4 separate regions of the Homo sapiens genome follow, and all the other regions are linked to region 1. Evidence: promoter capture Hi-C in 16 types of primary human blood cells and fetal thymus (Javierre and others, 2016). All regions are on one chromosome and are shown on one strand. The core of a region is centred on a gene start or on the middle of the fragment in contact, and the rest is flanking DNA. Distances in the headings are between cores, read along the strand shown. Region 1 holds the start of RNF103 (ring finger protein 103). Region 2 overlaps RMND5A (required for meiotic nuclear division 5 homolog A). Region 3 overlaps RMND5A (required for meiotic nuclear division 5 homolog A). Region 4 overlaps KDM3A (lysine demethylase 3A).

Region 1 (3,136 bases), core at 560-3,059:
TTAATTCCTTCTTTCTAGTCCCTCCCACACTCTAATGTTTTTTTCCAATTTGGAACTCTGGCCTGACTGGTTCCACCCTCAGCTCACACACCAACTTTCCCTGCCCATGCCTATTCTGTATTTTTGAGATTGGGTCAGTCTCTCCTCACTAGCGAGTACATACATTCCTTTGAGGTGAGGGACATCACCTTCAGTGTCAAGGTTTGGACAATATCATCAAAGGGTCACCAAGACATGCCCAAGAATTCTGAAATTTCAGAACCAGGCTTGTTAGAATCAGTTGTTTAACACAGTCTCCCACACTGATCTGCCAGCCACGAGAACAAAGCCACATGGAAGCTAAAGACACAGGGGCAGTGTCCAGTTGCTGGCTGGACATTCCTACACCTCCTCCTCTGATTCTCAATGCTCCCTGGGCCCATCCCCTTCCAACTCCTCCCCCACTAGCCCGGCACTGAAATGCCCTTGTTCACTTTATTTTAAATGGGCACCATTCGGAGGCTACATTCTCACAGTCCATTCTTTGCTTCCCGTTCCTCCCTTGCTCCATGACCTGGGATCATGATCCCTTTCTTCCTAAAACTTTCACCCCTAGTTTCAGATAGTTGACAGTTTTGCACAAATAGTAACATTTCCCCGTAATTACTGTTTTTTTTTTCCTTCCTTATCAAAAGGGGCTGGTCAAAGCCAACCTTGTTCAGTTTATGAACCCAACTCCTTCCTCCCTCAAGACTGACACAGAGATTGACGTAAAGAGTACGCTCGGCCCGGTTAAATTTATAAGCACAGAACCAGGTATCGCATGCTTGTCCATGTGACTCTTTTTTTTCTTTTCTTTCTTTCTTTTTTTTTTTTTTTTTTTTTTTTTTTTTTTGAGACGGAGTCTTGCTATGTCACCCAGGCTGGATGGAGTGCAGTGGCGCGATCTCAGCTCCCTACAAGCTCCGCCTCCCGGGTTCACGCCATTCTCCTGCCTTAGCCTCCCGAGTAGCTGGGACTACAGGGGCCCACCACCACGCCGGCCTAATTTTTTGTATTTTTAATAGAGGCAGGGTTTCACCGTGTTAACCAGGATGGTCTCGAACTCCTGACCTCGTGATCTGCCCGCCTCGGCCTCCCAAAGTGCTGGGATTACAGGCGTGAGCCACTGTGCCAGGCCCATGTACAAAATAAAGCACCCGGAACTTTGCACCTGGACTTATCTACACTCGACAATCTTTGTCCTAGGAACTCAGGGAGTCCACACCAGGCTTTTAACACCCTTGAGACTGAAGGAGGGAAAAGGCTGTAACTGGCAGCGACAACTGGGCCTAGTATAACGCGAACTCCAGTTTTGGCCAAACCTCCTCCAACACACATGTGCAAAGCCACATTCTCATGAAGAGGGGGCAAAACATTTGCTTTCTGGGTTTAACCTTCTACCATCTCAAACCAACTGTGCCAAAAATTTCCCTGTTCACCAGGATTCATCAAAAAACGTACATTTCTATTTTCACCGATTTTAAGAGAATAATTAACTGCTCTATTTTTACAAAAAATACACAAAGTGATACAATCTAAAGACTAATCCTCAGACAAAATCAATTGCTAAACATTGGAGGGGCAAAAGGGGAGACCACGCCGCAAAAGCACGGAGAGGCAACTTTCGGCACCGCGGGAAGGCCCCGACCACGCTGCGGCTCCGCCTCTCCTCCCGCCCCTCGTTCGGTAGTCCGGTAGCCCCGCGGCTCCCCGAATTCCCCGCCCTCGGCCCCTGCGGGCGCACCCTGCAGGCCCCGCCCCGGCCCCGCCTCATCGCGACGTCAGTTGTTATGTCTCGGCTCCGGCCGCGGCCGCCGCTGATACACGGTTGTGGAGGGTACGGCCGCGGTCTCCGGAGGTGGCGGGGGTGTTGGGGACGGGTGCTGCGACCGGCACTGCCCATCCGAGCGGGACGGGCGCTGAGTGGCCGGGAGGCAGCCGGGTAGCCGCCTGGAGGAGCAGTCTCGGGGCCTATTATTGGTTTTTTCCCTCCGAGACCGATTCCATCTGCAGAGACCGCGACGCCCCATCCTGGGCCGGGCCGCAGTGCCCGCCCGCCTGAGAGGCGCCGCCCGCCAGCCGGCCCGAGCGAACCTGGAGCCGCCGCCGTGCCCGCCGCTCTTCTCGCGGAGCCTGGGCGGTCGGCGGGGCCTGGGGCCTGGGCTTCGGGCGCGGCGTTGCGGCGGCCGCTCCTCCCCGCGCAGAACACGCTGGGCCCCGGGCCTGGCCCGGCCGAGCGCCGCGCCCTCCTGACCCGCGGCCGCGGGAGTCCGGCCCCCACGGCCCCTCGGGCCCCGGCCTGCCGCCCGGATCCCCGCCTCCTGGGCGGATCTGAGTTATTTTTTGGTCTCCCCCTCCCCCTTGAGATCGCGGCACCGGAGGGCCGACCCCGCCACCTGGGTCAGTGCCCGCCCCGGGGGAAGCGTCCCTCGTTTTGTTCTTCCCCGCGAGCTCTCCCCGCGCCCCTCTCCTTTCTGTGCTTAATGGATGGGGGTTTTGAGTTTTTCCCCTTTATTTTTGTCGGCTCTTGACTGGGAGGCCCGGCGCGAGGCTCTGCGTCTCTGCGTCCCTCGTCGCCGCCTCGCGCCCGCGCGGATCCCGTCACCTGCTTCCCCGCCGGGGATGGCCGGCCAGTGACGGCGCCGGGTGGCCCGCGCGTGGACACGGGGCCCTCGCCCAAGCTGCCACCGAGCCGCGGCCCCCGCCCTCGACCCTTCTCTCTCCCGTATTCCGAGCTCTCTGGAAAGAGAGGAAACTCCAGGGAAGATGTGGCTGAAGCTTTTTTTCTTGCTCCTCTATTTCCTGGTCCTGTTCGTCCTGGCCAGGTTTTTTGAGGCCATTGTGTGGTATGAAACTGGCATCTTTGCCACCCAGCTGGTGGATCCGGTGGCGCTGAGCTTCAAGAAGCTGAAGACCATTTTGGAGTGCCGGGGGTTGGGCTACTCAGGGTTGCCCGAGAAGAAGGATGTCCGGGAGCTGGTGGAAAAGTCAGGCGAGTATCGGGCTTCCCCTAGGGTCCCCTCCACCTGGGAGAGGGGACGACCTGTACCTCCTGGTACCTGGCTGTTCCCCCAGAGTGAGGCCTTTCCTGGAAGCGTTAAAGCTGCCCAGGTTT
Region 2 (3,519 bases), core at 983-3,482, 140 kb before region 1:
TATAAGCTATAAACACCTGTACGCCACTTAACCTGGAGAGGCATTTATTTAGACAAATATAATTTTTAATGTACTAAATTTATGTTTGCACAGTTTCAAATTTTGCTATAAACAAGGCTATGAAATAAGAAAAAAACTAGCATTGCTTAATTCCTCCCCACTCCTTGCCAAGAAATATTTAGAAAAGTAAGTAGATACCTTTACAAAAAGGAACTGGGAGGAGGAGAGGACAACACAAAACCCAAATTCATAGAATACAAGTTTTCAAATTTCTTAAAAGTCGTATTTCTTTGCATCCTATTCTGAAACAATACTGTCCTCATTTAACTTCTTAATACTATATTAAGACTAAATTGTACAAGGCAAGGGACTTCCAAGCTTCTCCCTCCCTGGCAAAATGTCATTTTCTAAACCAAGGATGAGATACCCCACTTTTAACTCTCCCAAACATTGAAGCACATGTAAGCAATTAAGGTGAAATCCTCACCTGACATGATAGGACCTCTCTCTTATACCTCCAGGATTGTACCCAGAAACCCACATTTGTATTTTCTTGACCTCAATTCCCTGGCCACAGTTAACTGGCCAAATAAGCATAGGTTTTATTCAAAGTCACTCTCCGCAGCTGCCTCCTAATAAGAAAGTCAATCTATTTTTAACTCTATTCACTATTCTTCACTATTCTATGCCTCTTGCTAAGCTCTGGTATCAAGAGTTGCCTTCTGTGATGATCATTGTTAACATCCGCCTTAATGAATCCTTGACATCTGAGTACAAATTTCACAGCAGCATCCTTACTCACAATAGCAGCTTCCTCAGATAGCTTTAGTCAATTCACAACTTCTGAACATGATAAAAGCATCTTTTACTGGCTGTGAAGTTCTTCAATATCCTTGTAATTACCATCTTCTTTCAATAAGGCAACTATTATCAATTTGGCCCGAATAGTAGCCAAACTGATTCACACACACACACACACACACACACACACACACACACACTTCTCTCTCTCAATCCAAAGTAGAAGTAAATGTTCCATCTAAACCACAAGCATCTTTCTATTCTAGTGCAATATAAGTGAAAAGATGGTGAAGTGACTTTACCCTCGTCTTTATAGTGACAGGACTTTTCCAATATGCTTTGTACCATTAGCTTCCTGTAGGCTTAGGTCTTGCCCTAGCTTCATCTTGCTGTTGTCCTTTTTCAAATCTTTCTAATCACATTCAATTTCACTTCTAGAGGTTTTTCTTGTTGCCAAGTCCGTCTTCCAATTATCCATTTTTGTAAAATGTCACGTGGGTTTATCCCTGGGAGTTAAAGAGGTGACACAACCCACACAGCTGTTGCCTGAGAGTAACTGACAGTAGATGTGCAGTGATCAAGAGCGAAGTGACAAAACTGGTCATGACCATGATGCTCCTGTTATGTCCAGATGTGTAGACTGAAGAGCTGGCAGAGAAGTCTGTATTTTATACAATTGCTCACAGTTAATACATCATGGTGACTGAAATCTGAACTGTGTTGTTGGCAGCCAGGTGTTATTTAACTAAACTGTGGTAAAAACGAATTTATGTATGTTAGAAACCTGCAAAGACTGCCCATAGGTTCAATAAAGAATACAAGGGCTGGGTGCAGTGGCTTAGGCCTGTAATCCCAGCACTTTGGGAGGCCGAGGTGGGTGGACCACCTGATGCTGGGAGTTTGAGGCCAGCCTGATGAACATGGAGAAACCCCATCTCTACTGAAAATACAAAATTAGTCGGGTGTGGTGGCGCATGCCTGTAATCCCAGCTACTCAGGAGGCTGAGGCAGGAGAATCGCTTGAACTCGGGAGGCAGAGGTTGTGGTGAGCCAAGATTGCGCCATTGCACTCCAGCCTGGGCAACAAGAGTGAAACTCCGTCTCAAAAAAAAAAGAATACAAACAGGAGAGAAAGGACACAGAGATCTCAGTGGTAAGAGGTTACTTTATAAAGACAAAGAAGTTCCAGACTGATATAATGAGGAAAGACATAAAGTTTGAGAACCTGAGCAAGTCAGGGTGTCTGTGGCCCATTCTCATAAATCTTAAAGAATTACAAAGAAAACGAAATTCGTTTTCTATTTCTCACTAAAATGATTCCTGCCCCTGCCCCTCCCCCTTCCTTCCTCCCCACGTTTTTGTTTTTGAGACAGAGTCTCATTCTGTTGCCCAGGCTGGAGTACAGTGGCGTGATCTCGGCTCACTGCAACCTCTGCCTCCCGGGTTCAAGTGATTCTTGTGCCTCAGCCTCCCGAGTAGCTGGGGTTACAGGTGCTCACCACCGCGCCTGGCAAATTTTGTATTTTTAGTAGAGATGGTGGGGGGCGGGGGGGCAAGCAAACTAAAAATGCAGTGAAATTATTAACTCTATAATTTTTTTAAAAAAATTCTGATCCCAAATTTCCAGCGTGGACCACGAGAACACTGTCACCTTTGGAATTACTCCATTTAGAGAAACACTGAACCCCAAAAATGACAGTAAGATCAACAGTGTTACACTGATCTCTGCCACTACATTCTTCTGATGAAGAGCCTTTTGGGGCCTTTCCACCAACAAACCCCAAAACAATATTACTTATGAGAAGACTAAGTTAGAAGCAATCCACATCTATACAATTACCCAGCAGAAACATTAGCATTAATTATCTTAATTGTCAGGCCTGTGAAAAGACTTGGCACACAGTTACCTCCATATTTAGAATTTCTACATCATTCCAAAAATAAATACAAGATTTCACCTTCATAGTTAGCGGTTCTCCCTCAGGAACCTAACAGACAGCATTAGTGGGCTTATCTCTCTAATCTTACAATTTTGCCAGCCTGGGTGGGTGTCTATTTCTAGTAATACTAGGGAAAAAAAGCCTCTTGCCAATCCCACAGCACATTCCACTGTAACCTTTCACAGCATTTAAAGGCTTACAAAAACCTCTTTTTCTAATTTCCTTTAAGGCTATACTCTTGGGGGTAAAAGCTGAAGTTCAGGGGAATGAATGACATTGATTTTTACTCCACAGGTGTGGACCTGGTGAAATGTCCTTAGTAACATGAATCAAATGCTTAAAAAAATTCAGAGAATGGCAAACCTGACAAAAAGTTCAGTCAAAAAAGTGAGGAACTCTGTAACTTTGCTTTAGAGACTGAAAAGAACACTCAGTGTTTCATTTCTTAGATATTTTCAAATGGTAATTTTTCAGCTATGGGCTGAGTCCACTGCTGGAACTACTACCATTAAACTCATCTCAGAGTTGGTGTGAGTCTCTGTCCTTTTCACATGCTATTTAAGAAACCACACAAACTATGGTATTGCATATCTGACTCTATTTAAGACACACACACACACCCTTTTACATGAGGTTCTCAGTAATGCAGAGATTAGTAAGAGCTACACATAGGAGTGGTCACCATATTGGACAACATATCTAGCAGGCATGCTCAAAATAATGTGCAACGGATATTCAATGCTGCATCACTTATAAAGCAAAATATCGGAAACTACAA
Region 3 (3,590 bases), core at 208-2,707, 150 kb before region 1:
GCAAGGTTGTAAAAACTGGCTCATTAGCAGGTCACAAAATCAAATCAGTCTTGGTGAGCATTAAAAATAAAATCACACATTTGTAGCACTAAATATTGTTTTGTAAAATATTTCAGAATTCTAAATTTTGTGTACACAGGGTTATGCTATTAAGCTTCTTACTGGGTGCTGAAGGAAAAAGAAAAGTTAAGAAAGCCTATTTTCTGCTGGGATATTGTTTATTATCAAGTTTCTCTGCTGGGGGGTAAGAAGCATCAAGCTGTTTTGTTTAAGGATGCATTTTTAGTCCTTATTTTGTCATTATGAAAATTATTTTTCATCTTTGACACTCACCTTCCCCATTTTGGTGGAGGGGGTGGAAAATGCTTTTTACCATACTGCAAATACAGTACTCCCTCAATTACCTAGATGCTTAAAGAAATACACTGATTTTTAAAATAACTAGAGTTCAAAGCACACTAAATTTAAATTTTCTTGATGACTAACAGATTTACCCTTAGTCCTCAAGGGTAAATTCTGTTCAGTACGTGTGATCTTGACCTGCCACATTTAAGAGGGAGGATACTTCCTGAAATAGGAAGCATCCAGGACACTCCTTATAAGGGAAGCCCGTTTTCTCATGACCATGCAGACTTTGGTTCAGCAGGGTTGAGCTGAGGCCTGAGATTCTGCATTTCTCACAGGCTCCCAGGTGATGCTGATGCTGCTGGTCCATGGACCACACTTTGAGTCCTGAGGAGCCCAAATGCTGGAGGGAAAGGTGGTGAGACCTTGGCCTGGCCTGCCAGGCCTCTTCTATACTACCTGGGCCACTAGCTCCAACCTGACTGGATGGGACCACAAGGGTTTCCATAGGTAAGAAACATTCTAAAATCTCAGGTAACACTAAGTCTTTCTCTTAAAAAATATACAAAAGGAGTACAAATAAGTGCTTGGTCTCTACAACCTTGGCCTGCCATGGAGGACAAGGCAATTCAGTTTCTGGTCTTCCCTGGTAATGCTGACAGCACAAGTTCTACCCCCTCCAGCAGCCTGGACATCGAGCTGTTTCCGGGCTCCACTTTACCAATCATACACTCACTGCCACTCTGGTCAGTACACAGGGCAGGGTCCCCGCTGTGCACAGGAGGGGCGAGAGGGGGCAGCAGCCTGGAAACATTAAAACAATCCCCTACTCAGAAACTCGGGACTCAGCCAGGTGCAGTGGCTCACGCCTGTAATCCCAGCACTTTGGGAGGCTGAGGTGGGCAGATCACTTGAGGGTCAGGAGTTCGAGACCAGCCTGGCCAACATGGTGAAACACTGTCTACTAAAAATAAAAAAAAATTAGCTGGGCATGGTGGCACATGCCTGTAATCCCAGCTACCCGGGAGGCTGAGGCACGAGAATCGCTTGGACCCAGGAGGTGGAGGTTGCAGTGAGCCGAGATTGGGCTACTGCACTCCAGCCCAGGCAACAGAGTGAGAGTCTGTCTCAAAACAACAACAAAAAACAACTCGGGACACTGCTCAGTCACCTTCTCTTCTCACTGTTGGTGGCACAGAAACACAGTAAGATGGGGACAGATATTTTCTTAAATTCTTGACATGCAGACCCTTAGCAAATACAGACAGCAATTTTCTCTTCTCACAGTCAGCACCTCCCTACTCCCTCCCTCATACCTTTGTCACCTGGCACATTTATACAGACTGGTTCCACAAAACACTTTTTAAATGTGCATTTCTTTAATTTTTAAAAATATACACAGGAAAAGCCATGTGTTTTACATAGGAATACACACATTAACAAAGCATTTCTTATAGTTTTCCAAAACTCTATTATATCAGTCCGAAATTTATAAATTAAATATATCAGAATTCTTAAAGTTAAAATGAATTCCCTGAAACTACTGGATATGCTACTTTTTCCAAAATCAAATGAACAGAGGATATGGATGTGGTTTGTGTTAAATAAGGTTTATTGTTAGCTTTATTGCCTATAGTCTATAAGATGCAACTTTACTGTGCCTTTGCAAACAGGATACATTTCTTAAAAAATTGATCAAAATTTTCCATACATATAGCTCTATATGATAGATTACAGTGCAACACTATTCTCGTTACATAATTATAGAAATACTATAGAACCCAAGAGCACGGGGTAAGCAAAATAAATACAATCCTGAGCCATCTGAACAAGATGATTTGATGAATCCTTTAGTGTAAGTTTAGAAAACACAGAGAAGGAAAAAAATACATGCATACTGCAGTCATGAGCAAAATACATCAAACACCTGTTCCTTGCTAGGTGCAGGTGGGGGCAATGGTGAACTTCAGACACATGCACACTCACTCACACTCCCATTTTCTTCTGCTTCCCTCCCAGCCCCAACACATTCATTCCCGCCCCTTCCCAAAAAAAAGATCAGGCACTAAATCCTAGTGAACCCCACAACTGCCTTGCTGGAGAAGGTTAAGTGACTGCTAAAGTAAGAGTGTATGTAGGTCCTCACCCATAACATGAAACAAAGCATGTGCTGTAAGCCAATTCCAGCTGCTTTTGCCTCTTTGGAAGTAAATGAAGCATATGCCCACTACAGCTTGAAACTGCAGTGGAAATGTCTTGAAAACAAAATTTTGTTTCTCTTGCTATGTCTTGAAGTAAAATCAACAGTGGAAAATTCATCCTAAAACTGCCTCATCTGCTATTAAAATACATTTGTCATTCTATTTTTGGTATCTATTCAATTATAGTTCATTAAGAACGGTTCATGAAGCTTGTACCTGCTTATGGTAAACATCAGTGTACCACACAAAACCTGCCACACCTAGACAGGCTTATGAAACACCAAATCTTCTATGTGTTCCTTGCTAACATTCCCTCAAGACCACAGCATTCTAGTGTTACCAGAGATAAAGTACGTATAGTTAAGTGATGAAAGAAAGGTATTTGGTTTGTGTCGTCACCTTATACATCCTAGTGATGAAACTAACCAAACTATGCCTCCATGCCTTCCCTGAAAATAACCTGAGTCGGCTGACGAAACAGACTGAGCAGCGTGGCTCTCAGTCCACTTTATCAGAGGTTGAGCTGGAAAACCAGAGGGCTAATGTAGTCTACCAGCAGCTTGTGCGGATAACCAAGAGTTCTTGGCTGTTGCAGTATCCACTGTCCCAAAGGCTAAGCCACTGAGGTGGAAATCAATCGCAGCATAAAGAAGACTGAACTTAAGCTGCATAACCTGCGAGACTACCTGGAGAGGACAAAAGAGGATCAGGATCCTCATTTCCCACAAAATGTGGTGTGGGTTTTAGTGTCTCTATGCATTAGCTGCTACAGAGAAGTTAACATTTACTTCATAGCTTTCTTATTTTCAATTAAATGCTCACACTCAAAAAATACACACCCTATGAATATGAGGTGGCTCTTTTCTTCAAATTTTTTAAAATAAAGAGGCACCAATACCCGTTCATTTATGTATTAGAAGTCTCGTATAATCACCAATAAAACAGAAATAGCATCTGTGATCACACAACGGAGAAAAAAGATCAAGAGACAACCTTAGCCACTGTAAAACTGTACTTGAACACTCAGATGCTCTGGCTAAGTCA
Region 4 (3,173 bases), core at 548-3,047, 160 kb after region 1:
GGCCTCCTAAAGTGCTGGGATTACAGGCATGAGCCACTGTGCCTGGCCAGCAGGTTTTTAAAACCTGACAATTTCGAATATATTTATATGTACTCTACTCATGAATGCTTTTCTCAGAAATTTACTTGACAGCCTTGAAAAGACTAGCTAGCATATACAGATATATCTGAAAAATAAGAATTTAATCACTGGCAAAGTTTTGGCATAGTTTCAACTATTTTTAGGCACTAAATTATCTGATCATATATTACACTATTTCAGTCAACTCAATTTTGGTTAAATAGTACCTTAATGTTCTCCAGAAGGTGTGATGGTTGGTTTTGGGTGTTTTTTGAGTTTCCTAATCCTTTAAATGAGGAAATTTGTTTATTCCTAAAGTCCCTTTTGCTTGTAATAGTTTGCAATTCCCTGTTAATCTGAGGTTAGTCTCCCAAAGTTTAATGCTAAATCATTTTGAAATGCTTATTCAAGGCTCAATTTTACCAATTATCTTTCCTCATATTGGTCACCTTCCTTATTCTGAATATGTTTAGAATTGATGCACTAATACCTTTCCTCACTCTCCCAAGAGCAACATACTTAAGAAATTTGGATTATAAACCTAAGCATAAATTTTTACTCTGTATAAAATCAAGCCGCTCAAGTTAAAAAAAAAAACCCTCCATCTAATTTCCCATATGTAATCAATAAACCAATAAATCTTGCCTCTATTTGCAAAGTATGTATTGAATCTACCCATTTCTTTTCATGTCACTACTACTACCATCTTTCCCCTAAGCTACACATGTCCTAACCAACCTTCCTTCCATTCTTGTTGAATCCTCTGCATCCTACCCAAGATCTCTTCTACCACAGAGCAATCTCTATAAAACATAAATCAAATAAGATCACGGCAGTCCACTGCCTACAAGAATCCCATGTGGTCCAGTCTCCTTACCACTCCTGCTCCTCCTCCCCCCATCTCTTTCACTGCCCCGCTTGCTCACAGTACTCCAACTACACTTGCTTCCTTTCTCATCTCCTAGTGTTCTAAGCCCTTTCTTGCCTGGGCCTTTGTACTTGTTATCTCTCTGGCTACATCGTTTTCAGTGGCTGGTTGGTTCTCTCTGTTCACCCTCAAGTCTGTTAATATGTCACACTCTCAGAATTTCTGATTACTCTTTCTGAAGTAGCATCCCAAAAGCCGTCCCTTACTCTTTATCATTTTTCTGTTTATACCTTTCATAGCCCTTATCACACCATGAAAGTACCTTTCACTTATTCACTGTCAGTCTCCTCACAATGGGACACACACTGTTTATGGGCAGAGGCCCTGCTGTTGCGCCCACTGTTATAACCTCATAAAACCAAACATACAGTGGATGCTCAATAAATAAGACTGGTGGAATGAACATACCAAGGAGTGAATGCTGTTAGCATGTAACATTTCTAAATAGCTATAAATCAATAAGTCTTATGAGTTACCTGAAGTGACAGGAAGTGATGATCACCACTGTAGATCAGTCTAGCATACACTAAATATGCAATAAATACTTGTTGGAAGGAGGGATGGAGGAACAGAGGGAAGGAGGGAAGAAAGGAGAAATCTGCTATTTTTACAAGGGTGATTCACCACACCAAGGAGAAGATTTGGAGAGCAGTGGCAACAGCACAGTGATGAAGAGTACTGGATTTTGGTGTTAGCCTTTGGTTTGAAATTCAGTCTCTAACACTTCCTAGCACTTTCTTCCCATGAAGTATACTTTACAGGGCTGTGCTTTTACCATAGTGCCTGGCGCTGAAATCAATTTTAGAGATGAGCTGTCTTAAAGCAGAAAAACATTGCGAAAATTTTCTCAATTCTGTCACCGTGTGTTAGAATTAGCACAACTTAGCGTGCTTTTCCTTTAAGAAACTCAAGTATTTCCTTCTACAACTTTCCTAAGGTTTAGCTCAACAGGAACAGGACTCCAATTCCCAAACCCATGTTCACGAGTGCACCTCCGCACTGGCCTCTGACTCAACAAAGGGTCAAAGTTTCTTCTTACCTGAAGAGTTTTCCCTGAAGGTCTTCTATACCAGTCATGGCAATAGTTCCTCCCTGCCAGCAGACGGAGATAATATAATTGAGTGTATGATAGAATTCTAAAAAGGACACTGCCGGCTCACATTCCTCAGCAGACTCTTTCCCAACTAACCAGGCAACGTCGTAACTCTGAGGAATAGTCTGCTAGGCAGAGAAGACCTTCAAGGAGCCAGGTATCACTGGCAAACAGGTTTATCTTAACCAAAAGTATTCATCAAGACAGTCAAGAGTCTTGCCTACTAGTCCCAAATGCCTGTCTTCTAAAGACCACCCTAAAAGTGCCAGTCCAACACATCTGGGAAGTGCAAACACAGTGAGAATCGTGCTGAGTGCATTACTGTACTCACCTTTCACTCATACATTTTCAAAAACTTTCTTTCCCCACTGCTCCCTTTATCTCTCCAGCCCTCCTGAAATCTAGGCCAGGCCAGTGTATCCAAAACTTGTCTGACTACAAGAATCACCCAGAACGAAAGACATTTACCGATATGGAATAATAGTTATAATACATTGCAAGGGAATCAAGGAGGCTACAAGAGTATGGTTTTTAGTTTTAAAAAACTAACAAAAAAAATCAGGTCTCTGTGATAAATACAGGGGGAGAAGAGACAGAAGGAAAGTATTTCCTTACATTACATTTGAAGTATTTCAAAATGTAAACAGAGAGTCTCTGAGAAGTATGATTACAAGTGATGATTCTATTCTTTACTATACTTTTCTAGGTTAACCAAAAATTTTCAAATGAGATGAGCTTCACAATCAAAAAAATATTTTCAAGAACTTCTGAAACCCAGGTAAAAATCCACCTTCGACTTCCTTTAGAATGACGTGACTAGCATAGAGCTCAAGAGCTGCAATGTACATTTTTAAAACACTTAATTTAGTTTATCATATTAGATGCAGAAGTTAAGAAACTTATCTCCAGGCTGAAGTGCAGGCTTATTTTTTTAATAGCTTCTAATGTGCCCAACAATCAGCTCAATAGCACACATAGTATGGGCAACATGCTGAGAAAGATAAAAAAGTAATGCTTCTGGCCTTGCAAGAATTTGAATCAAGGAGACAGGATCATATCATATATGTCTATATGCCCACATTTTACAAGTAC

The links. Contacts are between HindIII fragments. The CHiCAGO score rates a contact against its expected background, and 5 or more counts as called.
Region 2: a fragment that was not itself captured here is called in contact with the fragment with the promoter of RNF103 in region 1 in 2 of 17 cell types (M1 macrophages and M2 macrophages); the score reaches 8.0 in M1 macrophages.
Region 3: a fragment that was not itself captured here is called in contact with the fragment with the promoter of RNF103 in region 1 in 1 of 17 cell types (erythroblasts); the score reaches 5.2 in erythroblasts.
Region 4: a contact is called between a fragment that was not itself captured here and the fragment with the promoter of RNF103 in region 1, in 2 of 17 cell types (neutrophils and naive CD8 T cells). The highest score is 7.5, in neutrophils.

Annotation. Positions count from the first base shown.
Region 1 is chr2:86,622,538-86,625,673 of GRCh38, reverse strand. RNF103 (ring finger protein 103) reads left to right here and starts at 1,809. Exons shown (of 4, transcript NM_005667.4): 1 at 1,809-3,013. The coding sequence starts at 2,788. The region is part of intron 2 of RNF103-CHMP3 (RNF103-CHMP3 readthrough); the gene reads left to right. RefSeq lists silencers at 1,619-1,788, 1,869-2,408, 2,679-2,758, 2,939-2,988 and an enhancer at 1,614-1,908. The HindIII fragment of the contact is 8,880 bases long and covers 1-2,801 here.
Region 2 is chr2:86,758,448-86,761,966 of GRCh38, reverse strand. The region is part of intron 4 of RMND5A (required for meiotic nuclear division 5 homolog A); the gene reads right to left. Among named protein-coding and RNA genes, the nearest start is that of CD8A, 31 kb to the left of the region's middle. The HindIII fragment of the contact is 3,704 bases long and covers 381-3,519 here.
Region 3 is chr2:86,776,154-86,779,743 of GRCh38, reverse strand. RMND5A (required for meiotic nuclear division 5 homolog A) reads right to left here. Exons shown (of 9, transcript NM_022780.4): 9 at 1,703-3,590. Among named protein-coding and RNA genes, the nearest start is that of CD8A, 13 kb to the left of the region's middle. The HindIII fragment of the contact is 2,601 bases long and covers 157-2,757 here.
Region 4 is chr2:86,459,686-86,462,858 of GRCh38, reverse strand. All of the region lies in intron 8 of KDM3A (lysine demethylase 3A), which reads right to left. Among named protein-coding and RNA genes, the nearest start is that of KDM3A, 20 kb to the right of the region's middle. The HindIII fragment of the contact is 5,511 bases long and covers 1-3,173 here.